3 separate regions of the Homo sapiens genome follow, and regions 2 and 3 are each linked to region 1. Evidence: promoter capture Hi-C in 16 types of primary human blood cells and fetal thymus (Javierre and others, 2016). All regions are on one chromosome and are shown on one strand. Each heading gives the region's core, a stretch centred on a gene start or on the middle of the fragment in contact. The rest is flanking DNA. Distances are from core to core; before and after follow the strand shown. Region 1 holds the start of IGSF21 (immunoglobin superfamily member 21). Region 2 overlaps ARHGEF10L (Rho guanine nucleotide exchange factor 10 like). Region 3 overlaps ARHGEF10L (Rho guanine nucleotide exchange factor 10 like).

What was found. The method cuts DNA at HindIII sites, captures the fragments that hold promoters and counts their contacts. A CHiCAGO score of 5 or more calls a contact.
Region 2: a contact is called between a fragment that was not itself captured here and the fragment with the promoter of IGSF21 in region 1, in 3 of 17 cell types (naive CD8 T cells, naive CD4 T cells and non-activated CD4 T cells). The highest score is 6.6, in naive CD8 T cells.
Region 3: a fragment that was not itself captured here is called in contact with the fragment with the promoter of IGSF21 in region 1 in 4 of 17 cell types (endothelial precursors, naive CD4 T cells, naive CD8 T cells and 1 more); the score reaches 8.8 in endothelial precursors.

The regions. Positions count from the first base shown.
Region 1 is chr1:18,105,991-18,110,646 of GRCh38, forward strand. IGSF21 (immunoglobin superfamily member 21) reads left to right here and starts at 1,808. Exons shown (of 10, transcript NM_032880.5): 1 at 1,808-2,208. The coding sequence starts at 2,139. The HindIII fragment of the contact is 15,130 bases long and covers 1-4,656 here.
Region 2 is chr1:17,634,969-17,639,624 of GRCh38, forward strand. It overlaps ARHGEF10L (Rho guanine nucleotide exchange factor 10 like), which reads left to right. Exons shown (of 29, transcript NM_018125.4): 18 at 1-48; 19 at 2,920-3,035; 20 at 3,594-3,721. Among named protein-coding and RNA genes, the nearest start is that of LINC02810, 80 kb to the right of the region's middle. The HindIII fragment of the contact is 6,979 bases long and covers 1-4,656 here.
Region 3 is chr1:17,681,269-17,685,924 of GRCh38, forward strand. The region is part of intron 26 of ARHGEF10L (Rho guanine nucleotide exchange factor 10 like); the gene reads left to right. Among named protein-coding and RNA genes, the nearest start is that of LINC02810, 34 kb to the right of the region's middle. RefSeq lists enhancers at 1,411-1,971, 2,758-3,359. The HindIII fragment of the contact is 2,483 bases long and covers 1,288-3,770 here.

The DNA of each region.
Region 1 (4,656 bases), core at 558-3,057:
CCACAGAGGATTTAGAACCTGGGATGGACTTTTGGGTTTGTTGACTTTTTCTTGGGTCAGAGTGGGGAGGGAGGGCCAGGGAGGAGGCAGTAAGGGACTGTGCCCTGCAGCCTGAGAAGAAGGTGAGGGGGAGAGGTGACCTCAAGCTGACCCTCAGCAGCCTGGAGAAGGGGAGACCTGGGTGGATGCGAGTGAGAGGGAGCAAAGAACAGCAGCCAAAGGGAGAAGAAAGGACCTAAGACTCCAGTGTTCATCAAGTGTTCAAGCCATATGCAGTCCAATCAACCTGGAACCAATTAGTCTGATTCACAAAAAAAAAAAAAAAAAAAAAAAAAAAAAATCCCACTTAGGGACAAACTGTAATCAAACACCTATTTATAAGGGTTTATTATGATCATTATTATTATTTTACTGAGAGGATCATTCTAAAGCCTGTCAGGTGAACGTATGCTTTCAGATCTTCATAAATGCAAATCGCTCCTTCTGGGGTGGGTGAGCAAGCTGAGCCGCAGAGCTGCCTTGGGAGGCGATGGGGTGAGGTTCCAGAGGGCAGGAGGAGGGAGCAGTTCACTTTCATGGACATCTCTGCACAAAGCTCACCCAGAGGCAGCCCAGCAACCACCCATTGCCCACCCCACTCCCTACACTCCTCTCAGAGGGCTGCTGGAGATGGAACTGGCTATAGACCCATTGCCCATGTAGGTAAACGATGCAACAGCCTGACTCAGCAACCTGCCAGAGCTAGGGAAGCTGGAGATTCTCCATAGAAGGCCTGGGTAAAGGGACCCACCTGAGTTCTGAGCAGGTTTTGCCCCTGGTCGTGCTGGTTTTTCTGGGCTTTGCCAATCTTCTGGGTCCCTACCAATGGTGAAATTCTATCTCCTGAACTTCCTCATCTAACCACATCCCCAGTCCACTCCAAGGGCTAGAGTACCCCTCCCCTTCATCCTCGCAGGAGGCCTCAAAGTCCACCGCCAGGGCTGAGGCTCAATGGTGTGTGTGTGTGTGTGTGTGTGTGTGTGTGTGTGCTCGCGTGTGTGTTGGTGGGAGAGTAATGGTAACATACAAGTCCCAAACCTGTTCTTCTCGGACCTGGGAAGAAAAGCTGTCAGGTCTGGCAAAAAGGTGGAAACTTGGTCTCTGCCAGGAGGAAACAATCAGTTCCTCACCCTTCCTGGCTGGATCCTAGCACATGGGAAAAAGACAGAACACACCCCATTTCCGTGGGTCCCTGGGGGAAGGAGCAGCCGTAATTGGGGAAGTTTCAGAACATGGAAACCCCTTAATCTTGCCCAATGAGGGCATTCATCGTTGGCAAGGTCAGAACTCCAGAGCCACACCCTGCCTGCCCTGCTCCCAGGATGGCATCTTTCCCTCTCGGGAGGGAGGCTGCCTCCTTTCATCAGGCTGAGTAGCGGGGAGGGCGATGGTAATCCCGGGGATAGGAGGGGCTAGGTAAAGGCGGATCCGATGGAGCATAGCTTCCAGGGCGGGGTGTTGGGTCACCTGGGTAAGGGTTAAGAAGCTGGAGGCAGCAAGCCAGTTTTGAGTGAGGGGGGACCTGAGTGAGGGGAGAGGGGAGGTTAGGAGGGGGTGAGCTCTCCTTCTCCCTGCAATAAATCGGCTTAGCGGACGAGAGCCGAACAGCCCAGAAAGGATTAAAGAAAAGTCTGTATAATACGCGGAGAGCGCGGCGAGGGGAGGGCAAGGAGGGCGGGGGGGCGGGGAGAGGGGGAGGGACGGAGGGAGGGCGAGAGGAGGGGGGTGCTCGCGCCGCCGGGAGAGGCGAGCGCGAGGCAGAGAGCGCGATTCGGCTCCAAACTCCGGCGCTGCAGCCGATCGGACTCTGGGCCGCGGTGGGCACCGCGCGCAGCTAGGGAGCCGAGAACCGCGGCGAGCCCCGAGGACGCCCAGAGCGCGAGGGTCGCTGCGCCTCGCAGAGCCGGAGCCGAGTCGAGCCGGGCGCCCGGGCTGCCTGGCCGCGGCGGCATGGGGGCGCCCCCGCGGCTCTCCGCGCTGCCCGCCACCGCCTCGGCCAGTGGCCGGAGGCAGGAGCGCGTCTGAGCCCATGGCGAGGGGACCCGCCGCCACCGCCTCCACCCCCGCCGCCCCGCCACCGCCGCCAGCTCCCGGGCACCATGCGAACCGCCCCGAGCCTCCGCCGCTGCGTCTGCCTGCTGCTCGCCGCGATCCTGGACCTGGCGCGCGGTGAGTGCGCGGGCGCCTGGCGGGAGCCGAGCGGTGAACGTGCGCGGGGACGGGGTGCCGGGGGAGGGCGCTGGCCGGGGTCGCTCCGAGAGGCTCGGGCTACGAGCACCGGTCCTGCCCGGGGTCTGTGGAGCTGGTTGGCTCGATGAGGGAGGGAGGACGCCTCTTGGAGAGCGCTCATGGATTTGTGCCAGGGTGTGTGTGTGTGTGTAAATTGTGTGTCTTTGTTGTGTGTCTGGGTGAGGGTGTCCGGGAAGGAGCTGTGTGGGCAGAAGGTGCGGGAGTGTATTTAGAGATGCAAGTGTGTGTGTGCGTGTGTGTGTGATGGTGTGGGGTCTGCGTGTGAGTGAGCGAGGGTCTGGATGGGTGTTAGAGTGTCTGTGTCAGTTACATGGAGAAGGTGTGTGTGTGAGAGTGTGAGCGAATGTTGGGGGGAGGGTGTGAACATGTGCCACCTTCCCTGTGAGGGTGTGAAGTGTGTGAGCTTGTGTCACTGTGGGTGTGAGGTGTTAGGGGGTGGGTATGTGAGGTTTGGCGTTTCACGTGTGTCCCGAGTGTGCAGGTCTCTAGGGGTGTACGACAGCGGATTACTATTTCTGTGTGCACAGGAGATGGGACTGTGACACTGGACAAGAGTCTGCTTATGTGGGATGGGTGGGGGTGCAGGTGCCTGGGAGTCGTGGGCTTCATGGGGCTGGGAGTGTGTGTATGCGTGCCATGGAGCGTGTGGTTATCGTGTGCAGGGAGGTATGGACGCTTCCGGGGCTGGGGAGTTGTGAGCAGCTCAGTGTGTGTGTGTGTGTGTGTGTGTGTGTGTCCCGCCGTGTGGACTTGCTCCCGGGTTAGGCTAAGACAGCTAGAAGGAGGTTGAAGCCGAGCGGGTTCTCCGGAGCCAGTGAGAGGTGGCTCCGCAGCCCCAGGGTCCGCGGCCGGCCTCCCACCCAGTGCCGCCGCGTAGTGGGTCTTAAATGGAGCTGAACCCTTTCGCGCAGTGAGCAGAGAGCCAACGTGAGGCTAAAAGCCAGGAGGGAGGGAGGCGGGACCAGCGAAGAGCCGCAGGCACCGAGACTACAGGCTCCGCGTCCGGGATCCTCCTCGGAGCCTGGTGCCAACCTCAGCCTGGCTGGAGTCAGAGCCTGGCTCCGCCTCGGAGGGGAGCGGGACGCGAGGTGCCAAAAAGTCGTCTTTATGATCAATAAGGTCTCGACCCCGAGCCCCACTGGATGATAGAGGTGGGCATCACCTCTGTCCTATGCCATAGCCTTGTCCCAGCAGGAGGTGCCTACCTAGGCTCTGAGAGTGCCTGCCAGGAAGGGGTGCCCCCTTAAAAATAACCCCAACTCCTTCTACCCCGAAGTCCTTGGGGAGTGCTGGGTCTGCTGATGGGAGAAGCTGCAGAATTTGAGCCCGGAAGGTGGTCCTGACAGCGAGGGGGGAGGGGTTGGTGTAACCCAGAAGGAATGCAAACCCTGTACTTTGTTCCCCTACCCTTGGAACAAGAGACTTTCCTAAGTGGATCAAAATGTCCCCCCTCAACTTTGGGAGGAGGGCTCTAGAGGGAAAGGTTACATGGGGGAGGTCCTCGTTCCAGCGCCGCCGAGAGGGCACTGGGGTTTGTTGAAAGGCACTGGAGCCCTCACCTGGACATTGCAGGGGGCGGGGGTTGGAGGCTGGGGACCTAAGGTAAGCACCCCTTTCCCTGGGAATGCGCAGAACAGAGAGACGCGGCAGGGTGAAGGAGAGGACTGATGAGAAGGGCTTGTTGGGAAACCCTGGCTCCGTCAGGACCCCACCCTGCGAGCTCTCCCTGGAACCCGGGAGCAGGGTTCTTCTGGCTGCCCGGCTGCAGAGAGCTGACCCGGCATCCTGACGCCTCAAATCCCTTTGCCCGCCTCTGCGGGCTGCGGGAGGCGGGGGTTGGCGTGCCTGAGGGTGAGCGCATCTGGGCCGGTGCAGCCAGCGCGGCCTCGGAGCTCCGCTGCTCAGGATGAAGGAAGAGCGCAGACGCGGATCGCGAATGGGAAACTTTCCGCGTCTGGGGCGCAGAGGGAGATCCGAGGCAGCCGGGAGCCCTCTCTTCTCCGCAGAGGAGAGCACACGAGGGTGGGGTCCCTCCTTCCTCCTTCCAAGTCTGTGCCCAGAATGGGGGGCGGGGTGCGAGAAGAGTCCGTGAGAGACGCAAGAGGCGGGCTGTGCCGGAGGAGGGCGCCCTTCCTGGAGGTGGCCGAGAGAGGTGCACCTGGCAGCGGCTTTGCAGGGCCACCTGCCTCCGAGGGCGCAGAGAGGAGCAACCCGCGCCGGCCTTCACGAACGTACTGGCGGTCACTGCTCGGGGAGGGGCACGGCCAGAACGCCCTCGCCGGTTCTGCCCCTTTGGGTGGCAGAGCAAGGGTGCCCGACGCTAGAGAGTCGGGTCTGGCAGGAGGAAGGAGGCCGCTGCCCCTCGCA
Region 2 (4,656 bases), core at 1,604-4,103, 470 kb before region 1:
TCCAGCACTCAGGCGCCAAGAAGGCCTCTGCCTCAGGGCAGGCTCAGAGTGAGTACCCCCTCTCTGTGCCCTGCGTTCGTCACCCTCGCCCTCACCAGCCACAGCCTGGGCTGCTCCTACCCAGGCTTGGCCCTGTCTTGGGGACCCCTACATAGGCTGATGGGTGGCTTGGCCAGGAAGCTCTTGCTGGTTTTGCAGCCCCACCCTGGACCTTAATGCAGAGCCATGGCCTCACCTGGGTGTGCGCAGGTGCATCTCCCAATCCACACACTTTGCTCCACCTTCACATTGGCTGCCACACACTCTGTCCTGCTGTGCCAGCTACCTGGCTGCTCTTCCTCCCTCCTCCTACCTGGGCCCCCTCCCTGTCCATCCTCTGCCCATCCCCAGGGCTGATTCTTCCAAATGCAGGTCAGATCAGTGCACGTCATCCCGCCCCAGTGGCTTCCCATTGCCGGTCCTGAGGGTGTACCACCTGCCTCACTCACCTCCCTCTGCCCCTTCTCTCTGCTGCAGCCATGCCAGCCCCTCTGGGCTCCTGGATGGGCCATGCTCCCTCCCACCACGCCCTCTCCAGCCTGTGCCTTTTGCCAAGTACTCTCCTGCCATCCTGTTTTTGTCTCATCTGCTCTTGGCTCAAATGGCACTTCCTCAGAGAAGCCTTTTCTTATGCCCTCATGCTGGGCCAGGTCGCCCCTCCTGTGCTCTCGAGACCTCTGGTACATTTTCCCCTTTATGGGTGATTGATCGGTTGATGTCTCTCCTCTCAGCCTGGCTGCAGCTCTGTCCAGGAGCCTAGGGTACGGTGGGCATTAATAAGTGTTCCTTGAATGCATGCAGGATGCTAAATTGCAGCAGAAAGGAACCCTGGTGCCCGAGGCATCTTCTGTGGGTGAGAAAGGCACTGGGGTTTCACTTCCCCCTCTGTCTGCTGTCTGACCCAGGAGGCTGCCTCATGGGCCACCCACAATTCTGGAAATTCTGAGGGAGTGATTGCACCACCTACTCTTGCCGTCTGGGTGCTGGTCCGTGACAGCTGTGCCCACTTCCAGATGCTGTCTCTTTCCTCAGCTCTGCTGGGTAGGAAGAGTCCTCTGCCCCACGTGCCTTCCTCGGAGGCACCTTCTGCCCTGGCTCAACTGCACTCCCTCCCCGCCGCTTGGGGCACAGGGTTCCTTTCTGCTGGTCATGCGGTCTAGCATCCTTCATGCACTCCAGGGACGCTTAGGGGATCCCTCCTTCGGTGACAATGATGTGTCTGTGGCCGCATTCCTCAAACCAGAGTCACGTACTGCCAGACCCCTTCGAAAGGGGAAAGAAGTTCTTGTGGAACCCTTCATTATATTGTTATTCAAATATATACAAACGCAAAACTCCCTGTAATCAACTCCTTCTGCTTATAGCCCTTGAAGAACCATAAAACCAACACCAAATCACAAATTGAATAAAAATAAAGCTACAAAACCATAACATTCAAATTAACAGCATTAATGTAATGTGATGGATGATGTTGTTTTGCTGAAACCAATTTGTTCACAGTGTGGATGTGGCTCAGGCCCTGGTAGAGCAGGTTCCTCTGCGCTTTCGTGCCTGTGCCACAGGGTGCCCTGTGGGGATCTGCATTTCCCATGAGCTCCCCAGTTTGGGTCACTGCAGAGCCCCTCTGATGTGAGCACATTGTCCACATCCCAAGCTCGCCATGCTCTTTGCTTGTTACCAGGTGACCATTCAGGTGCCATAGTCCATGGAAGCCTTGATATCAGGCAGCAGAGTGTGGCTTTAAACTCATTCCACACAGGTGACTCAGATAATTATCTAAATGAAAACCCCAAATAAGGCTTCCCCTCCACTCCCCTGGGGCTTCATAAGACCTCAGTGTGCAAAACCACGGCCTAGAGAATACAGTCCAAATTCCTAGCCCAGGGGCCTAGCGTTCAAGGCCTTCCCCATCTGGTCCTCCTGGACCCTCCTGCTCTATCTCTACCTGCCACCCCCTACCCCCATCTCACCCTTACTCCATCTGTATCATCACTGGTGATCTGGGCCCCCTCACCCCATCACTGTCCCACCACACTGATATCTTTCTCCCCACCACCTCCTACCACCCACCATTGTTAACTGACTGCTTCCTCCGCCACTTGTCCTGCCAAGGTCATAAGCTCCGGAAGAATGAGGACCCTGTCTGTCTTGTGTACTGCTGTCTCCAGTCTCTAGCATGGAGTCTGGCACACGATAGGTCCTCAGGATGTCTTTGAACAACTTGCTGTTCATGGGCTGCCTCAAGCCACAGTGCCTTTGCACACGCTCTTGTCTTTCTCTCCTGGCAGTGCCCACCACACTTCCAGCCCTATGCAGGCCCCTCCTCTCTCCCAGGCACAGCTTGCTCTTGGTCTTGTGGTCTCATACAGCCCTTTGTACAGACTGACTATGGCCTGGATCTCAGGTGTTAGACTTTACTCTTGAAAGGATCTGGCTTCCCAGCTAGTCTGGGCGCTCTGGTCAGGGTAGGAACTGGATGTTACTTTCTGGAACTCTTTCTTTTTTTTTTGGGTTGGAGTCTTGCTCTGTCACCCAGGCTGGAGTGCAGTGGCGTGATCTCGGCTCACTGCAAGCTCCGCCTCCCAGGTTCACGTCATTCTCCTGCCTCAGCCTCCTGAGTAGCTGGTACTACAGGTGCCCGCCACCATGCCCGGCTAATTTTTTTCTTTGTATTTTTTAGTACAGACGGGGTTTCACCGTATTAGCCAGGATGGTCTCGATCTCCTGACCTCGTGATCTGCCTGCCTCGGCCTCCCAAAGTGCTGGGATTACAGGCGTGAGCCACCGCGCCCAGCCTCTGGATCTTTTTTGTTGTGAGCAGATGCTTGGCTTCTTGTTAGCGCCTTCACCTGTGCCTGAGTTGGTCTCTTCTCTGCCCAGATAAGGTGTACCTCGGCCCCCCACGCCTCTTCCAGGAGCTGCAGGACCTGCAGAAGGACCTGGCCGTGGTGGAGCAGATCACGCTTCTCATCAGCACGCTGCACGGCACCTACCAGGTACGTGGCCTGGCCTGACCTTTTTGGCCTGAGCTCCCCAGTGTGGGCAGTGCCTGGATTCAGAAAGCTGAGTAGGGAGGGGCTCCTCTCCTGGCCCATGTCCCCGATGTGCTCCTAGCTTCTGAGCTCCTGTTGGCAACTGTCGCTGCTGAAGCTCCATGTCCCTGCCTGGAAGTCTCTTTTGCGGCCGCTGGTTCGGGCGCATCCTCTGGTTTGGGTTGAGTGGAGCCTGGCTGTGGGGCCTTTGTTTGTTCTCTGCACAGTGGCCATTCCGTTATGTGGCCCCTCCTGGGCCTCTACCCAGTGTGGAGGGGAAGCTGGCTGCGACGGCATGTCCCTCTCAGAGGAGGGCTCCAGGTGGGATCTGAGCCCAGGGCTGGGAAGCCTGGGGCATGGCGAGTTGGCCTCCTGCGTGGGGCTAAATGTGCAGCCTCAGTGAGGCTCCAGGACTTCTTCAGTTTCTCTTCCTCTGGGGTGCTGTGATTCCTATAGGATCTGGTGTGGCTTTTGGGGAGCCAGTGTGCTGTGTGGTGACCTCATTGGCCTCCTGAACCCTAGAACCTGAACATGACTGTGGCTCAAGACTGGTGCCTGGCCCTGCAGAGGCTGATGCGGGTGAAGGAGGAAGAGATCCACTCGGCCAACAAGTGCCGTCTCAGGCTCCTGCTTCCTGGGAAACCCGACAAGTGAGAGGAGGGGGTCTTGGAGGGAGGGCTGCTGCCTCTGCTGGGCTTCCAGTGGAGCAGGGGATCCGGAGAGGGTACCTGGAGCCCTCTTATTTGTCGAGATGCCATGGTGGGAGTGGATATGTAGGCATCGTGGGCCATGTCTGGGATAGCATCTGGCACGCAGTAGGTGCTCATGAAAAGACTGTGGAATGAATGAATGAATTAATGAACAGCCTGGTCATGTCCTGGATAAGCCTGGCCCACTGTTAGGATACTCAGACACTCTGCCATTGGTCAGTTCCATTTGCGCTGTGTCCTTTTCAGTCACTTCAGCCTATCTAGGCCCCCAGGCCAGGCCCTGGGTTTCCTCTCTCTGGACCCAGCCTCCCCCCAGCACCACCTTAGCCCCAGAATGCCCACCACAGGAGCTGTGCACAGTAGACCCCAACTGAGGTTTGTGGAACTGATGACAGCCATAGCTGCTCGGCCTGGCAGAGACAGGGAACGGGATCTTTCTGGTCCTCCTGAGGCTTTGTAAGTTGGGTCTTTTTATTTCCATTTTACAGATGAGGAAGGTGAGGCTCAGAGTTTCAGGAGAGGCTGAAGGCCACATCGTGAGAGACAGAGCTGGGTCCTGATGAGGTCTGACTCTGAAGCCCAGGCCAGTGCAATGAGGGGGCTCAATGCCCAGGTTTTGGCCTCCAGGGTGGGGTGAAGGTGGGGATAGAGTGTCACAAGCACAGTGGCTGCAAGGAAGAGAAGGTTGGAGCACTATCATTTGAGGTAGGACCATGGGCTCAGTCCCCCAGGGGACCATGTGTAGGAGTCAGCAGCTTTGAATCTGCCGCCTCCCTGTTGAGTGGCCTGTCCGTCTCCCTTCCTCCATCTCCCTTCTCTCTGCCTCTCATTCTCCACGTGCACCCTAGAGGCTTGTGACACTGCCCTGCCCACCT
Region 3 (4,656 bases), core at 1,279-3,778, 420 kb before region 1:
CGGCATGTCTCTTCAACGTAACTGCATGGCATATCACACCCAGGAATTTAGGTCTATGCACTGATGCTATCTAAATACTGTCCAGGTACAGGTTTTCCCAGTTGTCCCCAAAATATCTTTCAGAGCTACTCCCCCAAATGCCATCCAGGATCCAGCCTGAAATCACAGGCAGCCTTTGGTTTTCATGTCTCTTAAGTCTCCTTTTAATCTAGAATAATCCCTTTGCTTTTTTGTTTTCTTCATGATATTGACTTTGTTGACAAGTCCAAGCCAGCGTCTCATAGAAGTTCCACAGTCTGGAATTGCCTGGTTATTTCCTCCCAATGAGCTGCCAGTGTTCGGCCAGGTGCTGTGGGGCTGGGGGTCAGGGGAGCCCTACACCTCCCACAGCAGTCCTCGGGGAGGAAGAAGAGCAGCTGGCCCCGTCCTGATCACTTGGTTAGGGTAGCGTCGGCTGGATCTCTCCTTCTAAAGGTGCTGGTTTCCCTTTGTGATTACTCAGTCACCTTTGGGTGATTCTTGGAGACTGTGTGAATATCCAGTTCCTCCACAAACTTTCCCCCTGGGGCTTTGTCATCCATGGGTGATCCTTGGTGATTGCTAATTCACCATTGTCTAATTCTGCCTTGCCTTCTGCATTGACTAGTTGTCACTAGTTACAGAGATTCACCTGACCCCACTCCACACCCTGCCCTTACTATCACTACAAATTCCTAGATTTAAAAAAAAAAAATCCAGCGTGCTCTAATCAGGACCATCATTATTATTTTTGATGTTCACATTGTCTTGAATTTGGCCAGCGGGGACCCCTTCGTGTTGGCTCCTGGGTCCTTTGGACACATCCCCATTGTTCTTTGAGCCCTTCCTTGCTTTTCATCTGTGAGAAGTTCTAGGCATTTCTCCAGGGCACCCTGGCTAGAGTCACTGCCTTCAGGCTCTTTCAGTGGACAGGGCCAGGGAAGAACTCTCGAGTTGGGGTTCGTTTTGATACCTCTGATTTAGATTTGAGATCCTGGAGTCTACCCTCGTCTCTCCCATTCCACACCGGACTCTCTTCTCTCTGTGCAAACCCTGGTTCCCAATAACATCAGTGTATCTCAGTCCCACCACATAGGTTCAGAATCACTGTGCCTGCCCCACCACCTCCAAGCCTGCCAAGGAAGTTGAGGTTTCCCTTGCAGATCATTTTGTCCTTCAGCAGGGACCAGGGGTGTACAGTTGGAATGCCATGATCCTGAGCTACTTGAATGGGTTCTTTTCTATGCGGATGTGACTGTGTTCCAATAAAGCTTCATTTACCAAAACTGGTGCAGGCTGGTTGTAGCCTGAGGGGCATTGTTTGCAGACGGCTGCTCTAGTGTATAAACCTAACAGCACGGTTTCTGGTGCAGGGTGAGCGCTCACCCAGTAAATAGCTGTGTCTGGATAATGGAGGCTGAGGGGGCAGGAAGCACTGGGCATTCCTGGTGGTGGGTGGGCAGGTGGCCTTTTTCAGGGATAAGGGGGCTAGAGGCCTCTTAGAGAGTAGGACAGCCCCTGACCCCACCAACCCCACACTTCTGGGCCTCCCAGACCAGCCAAGGATGAGGGCACAGGTCTGGAGGTGCTTGGCCTGGGATTGGGGTGCTGGGTGAGCAGGGTTTCACCCTTTTCTGGTTGGGAGGAGAGCAGAGTTTGATGAGCTGACAGCCTCCCCTGGCAATGAATTCTGAGCTCTCTCAGGGTACGTGGATACCTTGTGTTTGGAAAATGAAATGAGCTGCATGGCCTGGCAGCAGCAAGACCAGTGAGCAGTGAGGGCTTCCCCCCTGCTCTCACCAGGGTGCTCACTGCCCCCTGCTCTCACCGGGGTGCTCACTGCCCCCTGCTCTCACCGCGGTGCTCACTGCCCCCTGCTCTCACCGTGGTGCTCACTGCCCCCTGCTCTCACCGGGGTGCTCACTGCCCCCTGCTCTCACCCGGGTGCTCACTGCCCCCTGCTCTCACCCGGGTGCTCACTGCCCCCTGCTCTCACCGGGGTGCTCACTGCCCCCTGCTCTCACCCGGGTGCTCACTGCCCCCTGCTCTCACCGGGGTGCTCACTGCCCCCTGCTCTCACCGGGGTGCTCACTGCCCCCTGCTCTCACCGGGGTGCTCACTGCCTCCTGCTCTCACCCGGGTGCTCACTGCCCCCTGCTCTCACTTGGGTGCCAGGCTCAGTCCCTCAGCCCCCTCTGGGACCCGTGATCCTGGCATGTCTCTCTGGCTCCACCTACTCCCTGCCCTGTGGGCCCAGGAGGCTCAGGCAGGACTCCAGGCTCGTGGTGTGAGAAGGGGACCCAGGAGCCCAGAGGTAGCTGAGACATGCCAGGCTGGGGCTGGGGCTAGGGCTGGGGCTGGAGGTGCTGTGCTGTTCTCCCTATTCATTCCTGCCCTTTCCCCCGCCGGCCTCCCCGCTTTGGGCTCAGCAGGTTTGCACAAGCCTTCTGCTAAGCCCTCTGGGCCTGGAGACAGACTTGTTATGCCACTGGAGAAATGAGCCTGGATTTCCACCACCGACTTCTCTTTTAATTAGATTCTGACAGCAGCACACAGGGTTGGCTGGCTGCAGATTCAGGTGCAGCTTTCCTTGGTCCCAGGCCTCTGGGTTTCAGTGCGCTTGGCTTTTTCGGAGGCTGAAAATACTTCTGACCTTTCTTCGGGAGTCGAGCGGCAGGCTGGCTGCACGCGTGTGAGCATGCAGATACCTCTCTCAGTGTGTGCATGTTTGTGCATCCGTGAGCAAGGAGCTGCGTGCTGTGTTTTGGAAAAGCCTGCAGACAAAGCATGTTGGGTCTCACTGACTGTCCTGCTACCCCATCCATTCGCCCCACTGCTCGCCGACAGCAGGTGCTGAAGGGGTCCCCTTGGCCTCACTGTCCTCATCTGTGATTTGGGCTGATGCTGCCTCAGCTGGCTTTTCCCAGCAAGGCCTCATGGGAGGTTTCCTTCCTCCTGGATTCCTCCTACAGGCTGGTTTGGCAAAACAAAATCATTCTGCATGTTTCCTTGAAGGAACATACATCGCAGGAAGAGAGAACTGAAAGCCAGGACGGCCCGGGCTGTGGGCAGCAGATATGGGCGGAGGGCTAGAGAGATGGGGGCATGGTCTCTCCCCTACACAGCATGGACTACTAAACCTGACTTTGCACAGGCTGTGAGGAGGCGTGGCCTCCTCCCAAAAATCAGAGGCTCTGAGCCTCTTGCACCTGGGCCTTCTCTGAGGGCCGGGAGTGGGTGGCTAAGAAAAGAGGAAGAGACCCCCGATACCTCTGGAGCCCTTAGCCTGAGCCCCCAATCTGAGACAGGAGACAGTTCGCTTCCTCTGAGCATGCCCAGCTTGATACAAGATTCTGTCCTTGCTCTTGGGGGGCCCCCACCCAATGGAGACACCGCACCCCTGCCTTTGGTGAACTTTCGGTCTGAGGAAACTACAGCTTCTGCTCTGGGGGCATCCCCCTGGTCAGGGGTGGGCTGTGCAGTAGAACCCCTGTTCCAAGAGCAGCCTGACCCTGGGGAGAGGAACCACACTGCTGTCTCTTCTCCCCTCCCCTCCCCTCCTCTGGGGAGCCTGGCCTTTCCTGCTACCCCTGCCTCCCTTGCTACTCGCAGCTCAGCCATCAGGGACTGGCTCAGAAAAAGCAATTTCCTTGGACAGCTCACAGTCTTGCCCTCCTGGTCCCCACACTCTGATCAGGAATGAGCCCGGAGCTCACTGGCTTAGCTCCGCATGGAGACCCCCGCCCCTCACAAGCTTCCTTAACTCAGTGGGAAACCGCTTAGTGATTTGAGCTGGGAAGGAGCTGGGGCCATCCTCCAGGGCAAAAGAAGCTGAGTCCTGTTCCTCCCTCTCCACTTGCTAAGCCCACGCGAGGTCTTCGGGGGCTGGACAAAGAAGCCAGCCTTCCCCACACTGTTGTCAGACTGAGCTTCTTTAAAAGTAAAACTGACTCTGTCACTTACCAGCTCAACCCCCTCCAGTGGGCAAATAAAATCTAAACTGTTCCCCATGGATTCCAAGGTGGCCTGGTGCAATCTGGCCCTACCTGCTCTGGCCTGTCCCATTGCTGTGCCCCCCACCACGGGTCCCTCTGCTTCTCATTCCTGCCTCCGGGCCTTTGCACTGCTGTGCCCTTTGCCTAGAATGCTCTTCCCCCTCCTCCCAATCATTGAGGGGCTGTTTCCTCCCCATTATTCAGGTCTCTCACTAAATGTCACCTCCTAGAGACACCTTCCCTGACCCCAGTCTTAATGGCTTTCAGTATTTTTTCTGTGCAGTGCTTCTCACTATCTGATGTAATCTTTCTTTGTTTTAATTGCCTCCTGTCCTGAGAACGTTTGCCCCACAAGAGTGGGTCTTGCAGTCATCACGACATTTCCAGCACTTACACCCACACCAGACACATAGTAGGGACTCAAGAACATCTGCTGAATAAATGAGACCCTACTAGGCACTGGGCCTGTGCCAAGCTCTCCTCACCCAGGTACCTGTAATCCTCATAGCAGCGTGTACTTACAATTGAGGAAACTGAGGCCTGGGCCTGTGAAGCTGCCAAGGAAGTCAGATTTAATAGCAGGTTGGATCTCAAATAAATGCCCCGTCCAGGATCCTCCTGCAGTCTTGGGCTTCCTCCCAGG